2 separate regions of the Homo sapiens genome follow, and region 2 is linked to region 1. Evidence: promoter capture Hi-C in 16 types of primary human blood cells and fetal thymus (Javierre and others, 2016). All regions are on one chromosome and are shown on one strand. The core of a region is centred on a gene start or on the middle of the fragment in contact, and the rest is flanking DNA. Distances in the headings are between cores, read along the strand shown.

What was found. Contacts are between HindIII fragments. The CHiCAGO score rates a contact against its expected background, and 5 or more counts as called.
Region 2: a contact is called between the fragment with the promoter of TAF6L here and the fragment with the promoter of RPS25 in region 1, in 1 of 17 cell types (fetal thymus). The highest score is 7.6, in fetal thymus.

The regions. Positions count from the first base shown.
Region 1 is chr11:119,013,275-119,019,826 of GRCh38, reverse strand. RPS25 (ribosomal protein S25) reads left to right here and starts at 1,484. Exons shown (of 5, transcript NM_001028.3): 1 at 1,484-1,545; 2 at 1,774-1,869; 3 at 2,282-2,465; 4 at 3,888-3,986; 5 at 4,069-4,110. The coding sequence starts at 1,543. The coding sequence ends at 3,982. It overlaps TRAPPC4 (trafficking protein particle complex subunit 4), which reads right to left and starts at 1,061. Exons shown (of 5, transcript NM_016146.6): 1 at 857-1,061; 2 at 510-684. The coding sequence starts at 1,031. CENATAC (centrosomal AT-AC splicing factor) reads right to left here. Exons shown (of 11, transcript NM_198489.3): 9 at 4,744-4,833; 10 at 4,388-4,520; 11 at 4,034-4,289. The coding sequence ends at 4,229. RefSeq lists enhancers at 490-1,188, 1,443-1,672, 1,693-1,762 and a silencer at 1,083-1,202. The HindIII fragment of the contact is 1,015 bases long and covers 538-1,552 here.
Region 2 is chr11:62,770,057-62,776,698 of GRCh38, reverse strand. TAF6L (TATA-box binding protein associated factor 6 like) reads right to left here and starts at 5,303. Exons shown (of 11, transcript NM_006473.4): 1 at 5,209-5,303; 2 at 769-928; 3 at 229-315. The coding sequence starts at 915. It also overlaps a transcript of TMEM223 not described here. RefSeq lists an enhancer at 4,714-4,853 and a silencer at 5,044-5,453. The HindIII fragment of the contact is 6,431 bases long and covers 1-5,652 here.

The DNA.
Region 1 (6,552 bases), core at 235-2,734:
GGTCATTTAGTTAAACTGGCTTTCTTTAAATATGAAGAAACTAAGGCTCAGAGAAGAGAAGTTGACTTTAAGTAAGATGACACCTCGGCCGGGCGCGGTGGCTCACTCCTGTAATCCCAGCACTTTGGGAAGCCGAGGCAGGTGGATCACCTGAGGTCAGGAGTTTGAGACCAGCCTGGCCAACATGGCAAAACCCCTCTCTACTAAAAATACAAAAATTAGCTGGTCGTGGTGGCACGCGCCTGTAATCCCAGCTACTCGGGAGGCTGAGGCAGGAGAATCGCTTGAACCTGGGAGGCAGAGGCTGCAGTGAGCCGAGATCCCGCCACTGCGCTCCAGCCTGGGTAACTCCGCGGCCCCTCCCCACCCAGCAAAAAAAGATGACACCACTGCCGTTATTACCTAAAATCTAGATCTGGATCGGTTGCGTTTTTCATAACACCAGAACGACGATTTAAGAAAAGGTAGACAAATTACAAGCGCTGCCGTTCAGGAGACGGGGGACTTACGAGTGGAACATGGAGGCCAGCATAAGCTTCTCATTAGAAGTGAGGCGGGGCCGGCCAAATCGAATGGACACCGGGTAATTAGCAGGGTTACCCAGATACTCCAGCACCTCTTTCCCGTCGGCCGTGTACCTGCCATTCACGTCCATGCCATTGATGGCCAGCACTGCATGACCCACTGCAGAGGTGAAGCTAACGGTCAGCGAAGGTGCAGCCCGGGGATTCCGCCGAGGGGACAAGGGACCCGACACAACCCCTTTTCCCCCAACCCCGCACCTACAACCAGCCCACTTCTACAGCACTGGGGCCCTCCCACCCCCGCACCCGCCACGGGCCCGAGCCTAGCCCACCTCGGATGCCGTCCCGCTGGCCGAAAGCAACCAACACACGCTCATCGTGTAGCTTGAGCAGCAGATCCAGCGGATAACTGAAAGTTTTCTCAGCCTCAGCCCGTGGCGCGTAGCTGTCCAACTGGTAAATCAAGCCGCCAGCTTTGTTCACCACATACACACTAAAAATCGCCATCGCTGCCTTGCCGCTCGGAAACTGGTATTCAGCCTCTACCCGACGGCCCCTCCCCGGAACCGCATCACAGCACTTGCCGCCGGCCCCACCCCAGCCTCCTCCTCCTCCTCCTCCTCCTCCCGCGCCCCCCGTGCAGCCACCTGCTGCACTTGCGCACTGGGAGCGACACGCTCGGGCATAAGTAGTGCCGGAAAGTTAGCTGCCGAGACCTGGTGGATTGCTTTTCGTTTATCAGTGCAGGAAAACAGCGCTATAGTATGCGTCACAACTAGCGCAGACTCCGGCAGTATTTAGGCGGTGCGGCTTGGGAACTAGAATCCACTTCCTGTCTTCCGCCTCAGGCTAGAGGGCGAGCGCTTCGCCGTGGGACTTCTTCTGCCTGGCTCCGCCTTTTGCCCCGGAAGTACTCACAGCGGACGGTGGTTTTTGGGCCCGTTTCTGAGCAGCGCTTCCTTTTTGTCCGACATCTTGACGAGGCTGCGGTGTCTGCTGCTATTCTCCGAGCTTCGCAATGGTAAGCTTCAGGGGTGTGAAGTCGCCGGCGTTCTTGGGTTTGAGGACTCAGTGGGGAGAGCCTTCGGCGGGAGCGCTCCTTGGCCTGCCGGCCTCGGTTGCAGGGCGGGCGCGGTTATTGCTTGGCCCATGTGCTCTGGTGGTGGAGTTTGCGGGGGCTGAGGGCGCAGTATTAGGGGACTTTGGCGCTATTTGAGGACCTGGTTGCATTCCCGCTGCCCTCCTACAGCCGCCTAAGGACGACAAGAAGAAGAAGGACGCTGGAAAGTCGGCCAAGAAAGACAAAGACCCAGTGAACAAATCCGGGGGCAAGGCCAAAAAGAAGGTAGAAATAAGACCTCTCTGAAAGAGACTAGGGGTAACTCTCTCGTAATCCTCTAGTAATAGGTAACTTGTATAGTAAGTGGTTTTTCAGGTGTAGATTTCTAGAGTCAAAATGTGAGAGTTTATCTTCCCGTCACCACTCGTTCTTTTTCCCATTAGGATCATGAAAATGGGTCTGTTGTGCGAAGTGTCTGCCGCTGTGCCTGCTGTGTTATTTTTAACTGATCTAGTGGGGCTCGGCCCCTGTTTGAAGGCCAAAAACGTGTCGGTGTTTTTTTTTTGTTTTTGTTTTAGTAATGTGTAATTTATCCTTGATAACGGTGGAACAGATTTCTCTGACGCAGATTACTCGAGAGGGAAAGGGTGCTTCTGCCAGAAATACTAACTTGTTTCTGTTTTGTTTTGGTGAGCAGAAGTGGTCCAAAGGCAAAGTTCGGGACAAGCTCAATAACTTAGTCTTGTTTGACAAAGCTACCTATGATAAACTCTGTAAGGAAGTTCCCAACTATAAACTTATAACCCCAGCTGTGGTCTCTGAGAGACTGAAGATTCGAGGCTCCCTGGCCAGGGCAGCCCTTCAGGAGCTCCTTAGTAAAGGTGAGGGGTGTATCCTACATGTGTGTTTTTGTAGGTTAAATTGTCTTGACCATGTTAAGCATCTTCAGTGGTTTTGCTGGAAAAGCAGAATTAAAAAAAAAAAGCGTGGCTTGACCATTGGCTGTTAGTAATGTAATTCTGACGTCTTACTCCTGATCCTGAGATGAATTCTCAGGGTTCTTAGCCACTTTTGTGCCGTGGACCCTGTGGCAGTTTAGTGAAGCCCAAGGATCTTTTATGTTTCGAGTAAATGGATGCATAGAATTACAGGGACAACCGTTTTTGAAATAATTAGATTACTATTTTGAAACAACTTTGAAAATGTTTAAAACCTTTATGGTAAATATTTTGTTGATGTATTAAATTTTAAAACCAGAAATTTAGTACGGTCTACTCAGTAGTATGGTCTGATTACCATAATTCCACAATAATAAGGCTCAGCTAACTATAGTGACTGAACGTCTATAATTCTAGCACTTTGGGAGGCCAAGGCGGGTGAATCAACGGAGGTCAGGAGTTAAAGACCAGCCTGGCCAATATGGTGAAAACCTGCTCTACTGAAAGTTAGCTGGACGTGGGGGCACACGTCTGTAATCCCAGCTACTCAGGATGCTGAGGCATGAGGATCCCTTGAACCCAGGAGATGGAGGTGGCAGTGAGCCGAGATGACACCACTGCACTCCAGCCTTAGTGACAGCAAAAGACTGTCTCAGAAAGGGGGGGGGGGTGGAAGATAATGGAGCCCTAATTTAAAGGAAAAGTAAGGATAGATGATCGTTAAAAACTAGGATTCTCGGTTACCGAACGTCAGATTAAGCAATTCTGGAGCCAGGTGCAGTGGTACCCTTGTATTTCTAGCTACTTGGGAGGCCAAAGCAGGAGGATCATTTGAGCCAAGGAGTTTTAAGACCATTCTGGGCACCTCTGAGAGAACTCTGTCTTTTTGTTTTCCTTTTCTTTAAATAGAGATGCGGTTTTGCCATGTTGCCCAGGCTGGTCTCCTGGGCTCAAGAGATCCACCTGTCCAAAGTGCTGGGATTACAGGCATGAGCCTCTGCACCCGGCCAAAACAAACCTTACTAGAGTCTCATTCTGTTGCCCAGGTTGGAGTGCGGAGGGGCAGTCTTGGCTCAATGCAACCACCAATTCCTGGGTTCAGGTGGTCCTCACCTCAGCTTCCCAAGTAGCTGGAATTACAAGCATGTGCCACCATGCCCAGCTAATTTTTGTATTTTTGGTAGAGATGGGGTTTCACCTTGTTGGCCAGGCTGGTGTGCAACTCCTTACCTCAAGCTATCTGCCCGTCTCCACCTCCCAAAGCAGTGGGATTATAAGCATGAGCCACCGCGCCCAGCCAAAAACCTTACTAGTTTCTATTGTAGCATCTGTTAAGCATCTCATCGTGCTATTCTCTCCCCCTAGGACTTATCAAACTGGTTTCAAAGCACAGAGCTCAAGTAATTTACACCAGAAATACCAAGGGTGGAGATGCTCCAGCTGCTGGTGAAGATGCATGAATAGGTGAGTAGGAATGTGTGGGCTCATGGTGTAGGAGGTAGATACAAAGCTTTATGGTTCTGATTCTTTTAATTTTTTTTTACAGGTCCAACCAGCTGTACATTTGGAAAAATAAAACTTTATTAAATCAAATGAATGAGTATGTCTGTTTCCTAAGAAAGACAATGATAAAGAATTTGGTGGAAGGTATAATAGGGGTTTGTTGACTTTGCTTTTAGCCTCATGGTAGTTGGTAGAGAGCATGATTAGCTTTTTTCTGTATGTGACTGCTTCTTCATTGCTGCAGCTTCAGTTTTGAATTGATGTCTGAAAGGAAATAAAGGGTTAACACGATGATGAAGGGTGACATCTCCAAAAAGGAGGTTGGATGGGTAGGTTGGAGACCCGGCACTGAACACACATACCTGGACTGCCAGCGGCGTCCATTATTCCAGACGCGGCCAAAAGAGGGCAGCCAGCCTGCACTGGTCCTGGAGCTGTGATCAAAGTTGGCCCCAACTCGGTCTGGGGGGAGTTTTTTCAACTTCTGTTTTTCCTCTGTACAATGATAGGGAAACTTTTATTTTTCTTTATTGAAGAATATAGAGATGGGGTCTCACTATGTTGTCCAGGCTGTTTTCAAACTTCTGGGCTCAAGTGACCCTCCCACCTCAGCCTCCCAAAATGCTAGGATTATAGCCATGAGCCACCACACACAGGCAAGGAAACCATTTTTGAGTGTGAAGATTTAGACGATCCTCTCTTGAATTAGTTTACTTACTTTCTTTAAGAAATTCTTCATAGGATGGTCCTATTTCTTGGTTCCCAGCAATGTATTCTTCATCTTGGATCATCCAGGGAGGTGTGGCACCTGAAAAAAAAATTAAGGCTTTTTTTTTTTTTTTTAAGTCTTCAGGCTATTGTGAAACATGTCCTAGCTGTTAGCTTACCTCTCCTCATTAAGAGCTAGAAATGTCTAAAAGCAAAGCCCAGGAATTCTGGAGCTTTAGAAGGCCCTAGGCTAATTTAAAGCGACATACCCCATATGTGACAGTCATTTTAAAATGGCTTTGAGGCACAACTGACATAAACGATACACACTTAAATTTGGTGACTTTTGAGCGAAGCCATTACAATCTAGACCCCAAACATCCCCCTGTAAGTATCACTGCCCCCATTAAAATATTTTCATGTCCAGGCAATCGGTGATCTTTCAGTTGCTTTATTGGTTTGTATTTTTTAGGATTTTCTGTGTGTGGACATTGAGGTGGGGTCTGGCCTTTTGTTTTTTTGAGAGGAGTCTCGCTCTAGCCCAGGCTGGACACAATCTCAGCTCACTGCAACCTCCGCCTCCCAGGTCTCGGTTCAAACAATTCTGCCTCAGCCTCCCAAGTAGCTGGGATTACAGGCGTGCGCTGCGATGCCCAGCTAATTTTTGAATTTTTAGTAGAGATGGGGTTTCACCATGTTGGCCAAACTGGTCTTGAACTCCTGACCTCGTGATCCGCCTGCCTTGGCCTCCCAAAGTGTCGGGATTACAGGCATGAGCCACCACGCCGGCCAGGTCTGGACTTCTGAGATTCATCTGTGTCGTACGTATCAATAATTCTGTCTTCATCCTGGAATACTATTCCATTGTTAATCCATTTGCCTGTTGATAGACATCTGAATTGTTTCCAATTTGGAGCTGCTACAAGTGAAGCTGTTCTGAAGATTTGTGTACAAGTCTATGTAGACAGGCTTTCTTTTCTCTAGTTAGGGGTGGAACGGTTGGATAATGTGGTAGGTGTATCCCAAACTGTTTTCCAAAGTGACTGTACCAGTTTACATTCTAAGAGCAGTGTATGAAGGTTTGGTTTTTCTACACTGCCAAACACTTGGCATGATCAGTCTTTAATTTCTGCCATTCCAATACATATGTAGTGGTATTTCACTGTGGTTTTAATTTGCATTTCTCTAATGACTAATGTTGAACATTATTCATATGCTTTTATTGGGTTGTTTCCTTATCAAGTTGACAGTTCTTCATATATTCTGGATATAAGGCTTTTACCGATACATACGCTTTATCTTGGCCAACTTTATTTAAAAAAAAAAAAAAAGTCCGGGCACGGTGGCTCATGCCTGTAATCCCAGCACTTTGGGAGGCCGAGGCGGGTGGATCACGAGGTCAGGAGATCGAGACCATCCCGGCTAAAACGGTGAAACCCCGTCTCTACTGAAAATACAAAAAATTAGCTGGGCGTAGTGGCGGGCGCCTGTAGTCCCAGCTACTTGGGAGGCTGAGGCAGGAGAATGGCGTGAACCCGGGAGGCGGAGCTTGCAGTGAGCCGAGATCCCGCCACTGCACTCCAGCCTGGGCGACAGAGCGAGACTCCGTCTCAAAAAAAAAAAAAAAAAAATTAGCTGGGTGTGGTGGTGCACACCTGTAACCCCAGCTACTTGGGAGGCTGAGGCAGAAGAATCACTTGAACCTGAGAGGCAGAGGTTGCAGCGAGCTGAGATTGCGCCACTGCACTCCAGCCTGGCGACAGAACAAGACTCCATCTCAAAAAAAAAAAAAAATCTCCCAGGGTTTTAAAAACACTGC
Region 2 (6,642 bases), core at 4,054-6,553, about 56 Mb after region 1:
CTGTATTTTTAGTAAAGAAGGGGTTTCGCCATGTTGGCCAGGCTGGTCTTGAAGTCCTGGCCTCAAGTGATCCGCCCACCTCGGCCTCCCAAAGTGCTGGGATTACAGGCATGAGCCACCATGCCCGGCAGCGTTTGGTCTTAATGTCTCACCACATCGCCAGCCCTGAACTGGACATGGAAGTGGCCTCATGCCACCTGAGCCCTCTGTAGCCTGCACCCCACTCACCTCCACGCTGCTCCATCTGAGGGCCCTGTTGAAGTCCTCAACCGTCAGCTTCCGGCGTTTGGTGTGCTTCATGAACTGAGAGCTATTCTGGGAGGGAGGGAACAAAAGCCAGAGTCAAAGGATGTGAAGCAGGGGGCATGGGAAACCCCAAATGAAGTGGGCCAGACTGGAGAGAAGGCAAACAGGAGACCACGCTTAGGGATCAGAAGCCTAGATTCCGTCTCTGCTCCTGTACAAAAACACCCCCCGGGTGTCACATCTTCTGTCAACACCTCAGTTTCTCACATGCAGAATGTGAGTATCTACCCGCTCTGCCTGCCCAACAGGGCTGTTGTGAGGAGCACATGGGAAGATGCCTGGCAAGCGCTTTGTCTGCTGGAAGCCCAGACAGCTACAAGTAGAGTTCTGTAAAGGCATGGACTGTCTCTGTTGTATGGAGCAGGCACCCAGTGTACACTTGAATAAATCAGCGAGGGTGGAGGTTAGTAAAAAGGCAGAAACAAGGAAAGTTGGAGGTATCAGGGGGTGAGGGGAGTGTACCTGCGTGGCCTCTCTCAGACGATAGCACACGTCCTCTGCGAGCAGCGCCGCCACCTCATCGCTCAGCTCCAGGCCCGTGCTCTCCGCCATGAGCCGGACAGACTCCCGAGGGATCTCCACAAACCGCCGCTCTTCTCGCTCTGACATGGCCCCAGTGGAGCTGGGAGTGGAGAATGAAGACTGGAAAAGCTGCCCAGCCTCCCGGAGAGCCCAGGAGTGTGATCCAACACCCTCCACACCAGCCTTGCTGCTCGTGCTCTGGAGTTTCTAAACAAGGAGCTCTGAGTACCCAGATGAGGAAAGTGAGGCTCAGAGAAGGAAACAGACTGGCCAGTGGGTCAAGAACGGTGAAGCTAGACAAAGTCCAAAGTGTTGGGGTTCACAGAACTAGGTCCCATTCCTGCCCTGTCACCTTCTATGTGAATTTGGCCAAGGCCTTCATCAGTCTGAGCCCTTGTGTCCTAAACTGTAAAACAGGCACAATAATTCCTGCCCTCTCTAGCTCACAGGGTTGCTGTGAAAATGAGATGACTGATATGATTTGGCTGTGTCCCCGCACAAATCTCACCTTGAATTTTAATAATCCCCACGTGTCAAGAGCGGGACCAGGTGGAGATAACTGAATCAAGGGGACATTTTCCCCCATGCTGTTCTCCTGATAGTGAGTTCTCAAAAGATCTAATGGTTTTATAAAGAGCTTTTCCCCCTTTTGCTCGGCACTTCTCCTAGCTGCAGCCACATGAAGAAAGACATGTTTGCTTCCTCTTCCACCATGACTGTAAGTTTCCTGAGGCCTCCCCAGCATTGAGTCAGTTAAACCTCTTTCCTTTATACATTACCCAGTCTTTTCTTTTTTTTTTTTTTTTTTGAGACAGAGTCTCGCTCTGGCGCCAGGCTGGAGTGTAGCAGCGCGATCTCAGCTCACTGCAACCTCCGCCTCCCGGGTTCAAGTAATTATCTGCCTCAGCCTCCTGAGTAGCTGGGATTACAGGTACCTGCCACCACGCCCGGATGGCTAAATTTTTTTTTTTTTTTTTTTGAGACGGAGTTTTGTTCTTGTTGCCCCCAACTCTCCTGCCTCAGCCTCCCAAGTAGCTGGGATTACAGGCACGTGCCACCACGCCCAGCTAATTTTTGTATTTTTAGTAGAAACAAGATTTCGCCATGTTGGCCAGGCTGGATAGTAGCTGGGCTTTCTGCCTATGTGTTTGGTCTTCCCCAGTTTGGCTGCAGTGCCTAAATGCTGGAACCTGTTTTGTTCACAGGGTATAGCACAATAAGAAACCGACAAAAACAGCAGCTGATGACTCACTCCAACAACGCACAGCACCAGAAGGTAGGCTCCCGTGCGCCAAAGTGATGCATCCACACCTCAGACAGGAAGGCCCAGATCCAGGATGACCCACCCAGGCATTGCCCCCACTACTCCTCTGGCAGGGGATCAATGGGTCACCAGTGACGTCCAGGTCCCTACATCCAATGGACAGCTATGTGGCTTCTGTGCAGCACTCCTCCCAATGGCTCCCCATTGTCTTTGAAATAAAGAACAAATTTGGGCCGGGCGCGGTGGCTCACGCCTGTAATCCCAGCACTTTGGGAGGCCGAGGCAGGCGGATCACAAGGTCAGGAGATCCAGACCATCCTGGTTAACACGGTGAAACCCCATCTCTACTAAAAATACAAAAAATTAGCTGGGCTTGGTGGCGGGCGCCTGTAGTCCCAGCTACTCGGGAGGCTGAGGCAGGAGAATGGCGTGAACCCAGGAGGCGGAGATTGCAGTGAGCCGAGATCACGCCACTGCACTCCAGCCTGGGCAACAGAGCAAGACTCCGTCTCAAAAAAAAAAAGAAATAAAGAACAAATCTGAACAATGGCTCTGGAGGCTCTGCATGTACTGCCTACTTCTGCAATACCTCTTACCTCTTATCTCCTACTTTCTTGTGTTCTGTATTCCCACCTGTGTCCTCCTTTCAGTTCCTCAAATACACCTATTTTAGGACCTTTGAACACTGCTTCCTCCACTTGGAACTCTCTCCTCCCTGTCCTCCACCCCCAATCCCTTTGTCTAGTGAACTGCTACTCACTCCTTCAGATTTCAGTTCAAATGTCACTTGCTCAGGGATGTCTTCCTAGATCCTCCAATGTCCTTGCATTCTGCCTCCAAACCAGTCGTAAGAATTTGTAGCTGGACCCAGTGGCTCACGCCTCTAATCCCAGCACTTTCGGAGGCCAAGGCGGGCGAATCACCTGAGGTCAGGAGTTCAAGACCAGCCTGACCAACATAGAAAAACCCCCATCTCTACTACAAATACAAAATTAGCCAGGTGTGGTGGCACATGCCTGTAATCCCAGCTACTCGCAAGGCTGAGGCAGGAGAATCGCTTGAACCCGTGAGACAGAGGTTGCAGTGAGTCAAGATCGCACCAGTGCACTCCATTCTGGGTAACAAGGGGAAAACTCCGTCTCAAAAAAAAAAAAAAAATTGTAGGCCGGGCGCAGTGGCTCATCTGTAATCCCAGCACTTTGGGAAGCCAAGGCGGGTGGATCACAAGGTCAGGAGTTCTAGACCAGCCTGGACAATATGGTGAAACCTCGTCTCTACTAAAAATACAAAAATTAGCTAGGCATGGTGGTCCGCGCCTGTAGTCCCAGCTACTCCGGAGGCTGAGGCAGGAGAATTGCTTGAACCCGGGAGGTGGAGGTTGTAGTGAGCCAAGATCGCACCACTGCACTCCAGCCTGGGCGACAGAGCAAGACTCCATCTCAAAAAAAAAAAAATTTGTAATTATAGGCCAGGCATGGTGGCTCACGCCTGTAATCCCAGCACTTTGGGAGGCCGAAGCTGGTGGATCACGAGGTCAGGAGATGAAGACCATCCTGGCTAACACGGTGAAACCCTGTCTCTACTAAAAATACAAAAAATTACCCAGGAGGCTGAGGCAGGAGAATCACTTGAACCCAGGAGGCAGAGGCTGCAGTGAGCCGAGATTGCACCACTGCACTCCAGCCTGGATGACAGAGCTAAACTCAGTCTCAAAAAAAACACAAAACAAAAAACAAAAACAAACAAAAAAAAAAGATCTTCTAAAAGAAAGAAAGAAGAACTATTCTTTTTTTTTTTTTTTGGAGATGATGTCTGATGTCTCACTCTGTCACCCAGGCTGGAGTGCAGTGGCTTGATCTCGGCTCACTAAAACCTCCGCTTCCCGAGTAGCTGGGATTACAGGCCTGTGCCGCCACACCTGGCTAATTTTTGTATTTTTAGTAGGGATGGAGTTTCGCCATGGTAGCCAAGCTGGTCTGGAACTCCTGACCTCAGGTGATCCGCCCACCTCGGCCTCCAAAGTGCTGAAATTACAGGCGTGAGAGCCACCGCACCTGGCCCGACGAGCTTTTTTTTTTTTTTTGGAGACACAGTCTCGCTCTGTCACCCAGGCTGGAGTACAGTGGCGTGATCTCGGCTCACTACAACCTCTGCCTCCCTGGTTCAAGCAATTCTCCTGCCTCAGCCTCCCGAGTAGCTAGGACTACAGGCATACGCCGCCATGCCCAGCTAATTTTTTGTATTTTTAGTAGAGACGAGGTTTCACCGTGTTGCCCAGGCTGGCCTCGAACTCCTGAGCTCAGGCAATCCAGGTGCCTCGGCCTCCCAAAGTGCTAGGATTACAGGCGTGAGCCACCGCGCCCGGCCACGAATAGCACTGTACTATGCCTGAGACACAGCTAAGTGCTTTATATGGATTACTTCACTATATTCTCAATAATAAGATATTATTATGTATTTCGTCTATTTCACAGGCAAGGAAATCAAACCTCAGAGGCTAAATGTTCCATGACTTCTCCAAGATCATGAAGTAAGCACTGAGTAAGTAGGGAGGGGGAGCAAGGACTCAACCCCTTGCTCCTAATCTTTACTCTATACCGCATTCAGGAGCCGCCAGCTGTATGGGGAACAAGGCCTGGATCCCACCCCAAAGACATGGATTGGAGACCCACCCCTTGGTGACCCTAGACCCGCCAATAGATCGTTGTGAAGCTGCAGTTTCCCTATCTGTAAAATGGGAGCATTTAGTCCACCAGCGCGAAAGGCACGGAGGGAGTTTCCCTATTATATGACCGTACACGAAATCTAGACTGTGACCAAAGTCTCCCGCTCCTCAGCCTCCTCTCCTCCGCATCCTCAGCCACTAGTCACGCTGGAGAGGAGGCGTGGGAACTGACCTCCGCGGGCCGGGCCTCGGCAACGCGCATCCTCCCACCCGGCCTAGCCCAGCCCAGATCGGGGAGGGGGTGCGCGGGGGGAGGAGGTCAGGGGTCACTGAACTTGGGTCACGTGGTCAGCCAAGGGGGCGGGCCCTCGCGGTGCGGGCTCCAAGACTGGTGAGTAAGCAGTCGGCGTCGGGAATGGGGAGTCCTTGGACCAGAGCAAGGCCTGCTCACCTGAAGACCCCGGCGTGGCGAAGGCTGCTACCGAGACGACGGCGGCGGGGGCGGTGGCGGCGGCGCCCACTCACGAGCTCACACTCATTCCCTCTCCCGGGGCCCCGGCCCCGCCCTCCCCAATACAGCCAGTCGGCGGGCGCCTTGGAAAGTTTCCGGCCCTCCAGGAGGCTTCCTGGCTCTTGATTGGCCAGTGTGAACAGACTGTAGAGACCGGCGGTCACGTGACGCTGAAGATTCCCGCTTCTTAAAGCAACCTCTCTTGCTACGTTTGCGAGTAGGTGTGTATTGTTTTAACACACGTTTAATAAGCATATTTTATTTTTTTTACCACCACAATAGTAACGAGGAAATAAACAGTCTCAAAGACAGCGTCTTGATTTTCTTTGTCTTGTTTGCTCGCGAGTTTCTGAGCACCCGCATTTTCGCGACTGCAGCAAAGCTTTAGATTTTGGTGTCTGGCTTAGTTTTCCTGCCCGGCCTACCTCCCCAACATCACATGCCACTTCCCCTTCCTGAAGGGATAGATGGGGCTCTCGGTAGGTGTTCTCGGCAGGCAGAAGGGACTTCTGACCCGGCCGAACATCCCGTGCAAGCTCCGGACTCCAGGGTTCTGCTCTTTCTGCACCTACTTCGCATTCTCCCCACGCCTGTGAACCAAATACAAGCCCTGGCCTACCTCGCCTTGCATGACCGTTGGACACGCACACTGACAGCTCTCTTTCTCCAACTCCCACTGCAATAGCAGCTACTTGGGCAGTTCTTAATTGATAAGCAGTGGGCTTAGTGAGTAAAGGATGGTATTTGGAATCAGACCGACCTGGGTTAAAATTCTGACACTGCCTTTGGGCAAATTACCTAATATGGAGTAATAATGCGCACTTCACAGGGTTGTTGTAAATTAATGTCTGTGAGAGTCCCTGGCAGAGTTGGAGGTTAAACTTCTTTCCCGGCCGGGCGCGGTGGCTCACGCCTGTAATCCCAACATTTTGAGAGGCCGAGGCGGGGGATCACCTGGGGTCGGGAGTTCAAGACCAGCCTGATCAACATGGAGAAAAATCCATCTCAACTAAAAATACAAAATTAGCCGGGTGTGTTGGCACATGCCTGTAATCGCAGCTACTCGGGAGGCTGAGGCAGGAGAATTGCTTGAACCCGGGAGGCGGAGGTTGTGGTGAGCCGAGATCGCGCCACTGCACTCCAACCTGGCCAACAAGAGTGAATCTCCGTCTCAAAAAAAAAAGAGAGAAACTTTCTTTCCCTCACATGTCACAAGGCATACAGTGAATTCCTTTAAGTTCACCCAAGATGGGGTAGTTTGCACTGAGTGAACTGTGGGAACATTCTGCAAGGGAGCATGAATGTACACATTTTTTCTCTTTCCCCCTCTCAGGGTTAGATGCTGCTGCCGCTGGAAAAGAAAATCCCCTGGGA